2 separate regions of the Homo sapiens genome follow, and region 2 is linked to region 1. The links are contacts of gene promoters, found by promoter capture Hi-C in blood cells and fetal thymus (Javierre and others, 2016). All regions are on one chromosome and are shown on one strand. Each heading gives the region's core, a stretch centred on a gene start or on the middle of the fragment in contact. The rest is flanking DNA. Distances are from core to core; before and after follow the strand shown. Region 1 holds the start of TFE3 (transcription factor binding to IGHM enhancer 3). Region 2 overlaps HDAC6 (histone deacetylase 6).

What was found. Contacts are between HindIII fragments. The CHiCAGO score rates a contact against its expected background, and 5 or more counts as called.
Region 2: a contact is called between a fragment that was not itself captured here and the fragment with the promoter of TFE3 in region 1, in 1 of 17 cell types (activated CD4 T cells). The highest score is 5.1, in activated CD4 T cells.

The regions. Positions count from the first base shown.
Region 1 is chrX:49,042,066-49,044,654 of GRCh38, forward strand. TFE3 (transcription factor binding to IGHM enhancer 3) reads right to left here and starts at 1,292. Exons shown (of 10, transcript NM_006521.6): 1 at 1,046-1,292. The coding sequence starts at 1,161. RefSeq lists an enhancer at 618-1,481 and a silencer at 1,023-1,262. The HindIII fragment of the contact is 3,845 bases long and covers 1-1,801 here.
Region 2 is chrX:48,809,840-48,812,428 of GRCh38, forward strand. All of the region lies in intron 10 of HDAC6 (histone deacetylase 6), which reads left to right. Among named protein-coding and RNA genes, the nearest start is that of HDAC6, 9.1 kb to the left of the region's middle. The HindIII fragment of the contact is 7,978 bases long and covers 1-2,589 here.

The DNA of each region.
Region 1 (2,589 bases), core at 42-2,541:
GATGGGCACTGGGGTGAGCAGGGAGGGCTGGGGCTCCAAAGCCCATTGATGAAAGTAAGGATGAGAAGAGGCCAGAGGGGATCCACCCAGGCAGGGATGGTGCAATCTGTACTCGTTCCAGCTCTATGGACAGATTCAAGATTACCCCCAGGAGCTCGGAGATCGAAAAGAAGATAAAAAGAAAAGGGGTGTGGGGCTAGGGAGTGGGAAGGGCTGAGAGGCTAGAGCGAGTAGCAGCATGAACAAGAGCCTCCTCTGGGTTCCCAAACAAGGTCTGAGGCCTCTGAGCTAAGAGGTAACATCATCGCCCTCTGCCTGGCTGTCTATCTTCCATTCAGGCCCTTAACAGGTGTGGGAAGAGGGCTTTTCCACTATCCTTGGGATCTGCCCCAGCTGGGTAGGCGGGCAGAGGGGAAAGGATTATTCTGGTCAAGTCTTGCTGAATGTTGCTTCTCTTGTTCATTCACACGCACTCACAAGGCTGGTCCCAGGCAGCATATCTGAGATACCTCCAAATCCCTCCAGATTCATGTTATCCCCAAACACAGCAACCAGTCACTGAGAGGCACCAAGCTCCCAAGACAGCACTTCTGTCCCTCAGGACCCCTTCTCCCACACTGAGGGAAAAAAGATTCTAGGATTCCCTTAAAACCAGTGCCTCACCTGACAGTGTCCCCTCAAATTCATTCCCCTCATGTCCGACTGAAAATCCCCGAATTCAGCCTCTAATCAGAGACCCTGTCTACCAAGTTCAGCTATCTCAGACCAGTTTCTGGATACTCCAGAATAGGCCCCTCTAGACGCAGTCAAGGGCTCCCCAAACCTGACCCAGACCCCGCTTAATGCACTCCCACGACTCCTTTAATAAAGCCACAATCCAAGCAGGCCACTGCCGGATTCCTTAGGTGCCCCCCCAAGACGGGCGCCCCGACGTCCTCCAAGGCTAGGCCGAGGGCCTCCAATCCCAGTCCGGGGCCCCCACTGCCCCCGAGATCAGGCCCCTGGGAGCCCCAGTCGGCACTCCCAGCCCCAGGCGGCCCCGCACCTGAGCAGCTGAGCCGAGTCGGCCGGCCTGCGCTCCTCCAACAGCACGAACACGGCTCGAGGGCCCTCCGCGCTGGCCTCTACGCCATCCCGAGCTGGTTCGGCCGCATGAGACATGACGCCCGGCCCCGGGCGAGCCCTGCCAGGCCGGTCGGGCCTCGGCCCGGTCCCCCTAACAAAATAAGAGTCCCCCCTCCCCCCAGCTCGCCACCGCCGCCTCCTCCGCTAAGCCATGGAGCTAGCACTGCGCGGGCGGGCGGCGTCGGGGAGATGGGATGGGCTGTGAGTCATCCCCCGCCCAGAACGGACCGACGCCCCCCCTCAACCTAACCCCGGACGACCGCCCTCCTCCCCCTCGTCTTCTTCCCCCTCCTCCCTCCTCCCAGGGATGGGGAAACTCCACAGGAAGTGACCGCACTGGGGATGGATGGCCCGTCTGGCCACGACCCATTAGCGAGGCGGCCAATCGCTGAACGGCGATTCGAGGGCCCACCCTAAGCGACGCCTCCGACGCGGAGGAAAAACGCGATTCGGCCCGCCCTCATTCCGAGAAGCAGCACCCAGACCACGCCCTCAGGGGCAGCGACAAATAGGCGAGGGTTGATTTGGTTGAACCACGCCTCTATGTTTGCGTCGCTTTCGGAGCCACGCCCTCTCTTCTCAAATTATCCCTCTGCAAGGTAATATTAAGCCGCTCCTTGGGTCCTCTGCGCCTGCGCATCGATGGCCAGTCGGCGCACGGAGGGTCTCCTGGCCAAGCTTTTAGCTGCGGAACCGCGCCCTCTTTCGGCCAATATTTGTAATATCTGAGCCCTAGACCGCGCTCCAACCTCGATCTGGCTGTGCTCTCTCAGCCAAAGCCATAACTATGAGGCAGAGGCAGCTACATTCCCTGAAGGTGCGGGCCAGAAACCCCCCCCTTTCGCTGTCCGCAGTCCAGCCGCCCAGCTGGTCTTCCGGGAGTATTCCGCCTGTTCCATGCCATCGAGAGCGGTTGTACTATGTTCATTGCGCTGCGCAATATGTGCTTAATAAATTCTTGACGGGTGAATGAATCTGGTCCCTTCGGTGAATGACGACTTCTGGAATCACAAAGATCCAGGTTTGAATAGGGAAGGGGACCTCCCCTCTCCCAGCCTCAGCTTTCCTGGCCTGTTAAATGGGGGTCAAAATACCTGTCTGGCAGGGTTGTTCTGAGGATTAAAGATAATGTATGAAAAGTGCTAGCAGGTTGTTTGGCATACAAGAAGCTTCCCAAAATTAGTTGATTCACTCATTTGTTCACTTATTCAACATTCACTGAGCGCTTCTGTATGCCAGACGCATGCAAGCCGGCTCGCACAAGGCGGAGGGTCTCACTCATATATCCTCAGGTGCAAATAGCTCACAAAACACCCAGACCTACAGCCTTCCCTTCCTCTTTCCTGACATCCCAAGACCCCACCCTGAGTTGCGCCTCCAGGAATTTCACCGGGCTTTCATTTACCTTGGACCTTCCTGTATTGGCATCATTATTTCACAGGTCTGTCAGTTGCTTTCGTAAAC
Region 2 (2,589 bases), core at 29-2,528, 230 kb before region 1:
ATTTCAGATTTCTAGATTAGGGATGCTCAACCTGTAGTAGTTTTATCTAGCCTTCTTCCTAGCTGACTACAGAGAATCCACTTATCCAAGATCTGAAGAATCCAATTTAGGTTGGTTGTTCTCTAGACATTGCTTTATTATTTTGCAGCATTCAGTGTTCCTGACAGGTGTCTGCTTTTCATTCCTTTCCAAGTAATCTACTTTCCTCTCTGCAAGGTTATCTTGGTGTTCTTTTTTTTTTTTTTTTAAATTATTAGACAGGGTATCACTCTGTCACCCAGGCTGGAGTATAGTAGCATGATCATAGCCCACTGTAACCTCAAACTCCTGGGCTCAAGCAATCCTCCTGCCTCAGCCTCCCAAGTAGCTAGGACTGCAGGCATGTGCCACCACACCCAGCTAATTTTTTAAATTATTTGTAGAGACAGGGTCTCACTATATTGCCCAGACTGGTCTCGAACTCCTGACCTCAAGTGTCCTCCCACTGCAGCCTCTCAAAGCACTGAGATTACAGGCATGAGCCACTGTACCTAGCCTTGATGTTCTAAACTTTTACCCTGGCCTTTTCACTCTGTTTAATAGTAGGTAGACATTTTACATCTGAAGATTCATGCTTTTCTTAAACTCTTGGAAATTATTTTCTATTAGATCTTTGATAATTTCTTCTTTGTTTTCTCTGTTCTCTTTCTAGGACTTCTGTTAGTCAGATGTTAGACTTCCTGGGTTGATCCTCTATGTCTCTCTCTTTTTTATTATTTATTTATTTATTTATTTATTTATTTTTTTTGAGACAAGGTCTTGCTCTGTTGCCCAGACTGGAGTACAGTGGCACAAATACGACTCACTGCAGCCTCGACCTCCCGGGCTCAAGCAATCCTCATGCCTCAGCCTCCTGAGTAGCTGGGACCACAGGTGCACACCAGCATACCCAGCTAATTTTTTAATCTTTTGTAGAGATGGGGTCTCACCATGTTGCCCAGGCTTCTTATTTTTTATCTTATGTTTTCTGTCTCTTTTTTCTTTTGCTGTGACCTGGGAGATTTTGTCAACTTTATCTTCAAGCCCTTCTGTTGAATTATGTATTTAGATATCCTGTTAAACTCCAAAAGCTCTTTCTTCCTCTCTGTTTCTATGTCCTCTCATACCTGATCTTGTTTTTATAGAGTATGGATTAGAAGTGCCGGCTGGGTGCGGTGGCTCATGCCTGTAATCCCAGCACTTTGGGAGGCCGAGGTGAGTGGATCACTTGAGGCCAGGAGTTCGAGACCAGTCTGGCCAACATGGTGAAACCCCATCTCTACTAAAAATACAAAAATTACCCAGACGTGATGGTGCGCACCTGTAATCCCAGCTACTCAGGAGGCTGAGGCAGGAGAATCGCTTGAACCCAGGAGGCGGAGGTTGCAGTGAGACAAGATCATGCCACTGCACTCCAGCCTGGGCGATAGAGGGAGACCCTGTCTCAAAAAAGGAAGTGCCTTAAGTTTCTTCTGTTGTCTGAGTTATGTCTCTTTATTCTGAGGCTGGTTGAATTATTTTTTTCTTGGTCCTTCTCTTTTATGCTGATGGTTTTCCTCAAATGTCTAGCAATCCTTATTTGGCTATTTATACCCAAGAATGAAGGCCCATTGTAGGGGGCTGTCAGAGGACTACTCTGCTGCAGTGTTTGTAGGTCTGTTTTCCTGAAAGGCATTTCCCCAGAATGGGGACAGGGAATGTCCACTGACAGGTTGCAACTTTAGCGAGTGTGGGCAAGGACCCGGGCATTAGATGGGATCCTGCCAGATGTCAGAACAAAGGAGGCCTCTTCTTTGGGGTAACATCTCTTTTTTCCCTCAGCCTTTCCAAAGTGTATCTGTTGTACTTATCTTTTCCAGTGTAGCTTTGGGCTTTGTTGGTCATCTCTACTGTTTTATTATGGTGGGTTTTTAATACTTCATTAATTTTTCTGGTTTTATCTTTATTAATGTTTTCCTCCGACGTTCTTTATTTTGTTCATTTCTGGCTTCTGGAATTTAATGCTTCAACATTTATCAACTCATTGGCCGATCTCATTTCATCTATACCTGTACCCACTGCCCTCTTCCTGTTTTCCTTCAAAGCTAATCCCAGATACCATATAATTTCTCCTGTAAATATTTCAGAATGCATCTCTAAAACATAAGTACACTTTTTTAGAAAAGCATTACCTTAGTATCAATACCTGAAAATTAACAATAATTATTTTTTTAATCTGCCAAGGGTCTGTCATTCAAAGAATTCTTTAATATCATTAATCATTCTTTTTGTTTGAATAAATGCATAGGAGGCTATAGCTGTGTGTTCTTTCATGGGTACACTATTGATTACACACACAGATGTGAAACACTGTGAATATATTCAGTGCATTCTTCCTTATTAACAAACGTGTGTAAACAAACAAACAAAAAGAACATGTCCATGCCCTTGGATCTCCCAGCTCCCCATCTCTCAGTCTCTGAACTCCAGCAGCAGGGAGACAAACTGGATAATCCTTAAAATACTGTTGTGAAGACAAGGAAAGCAGATGATCTAAAACTAAGTAGTTAAAAGAAACAAGTAACTTTGTTG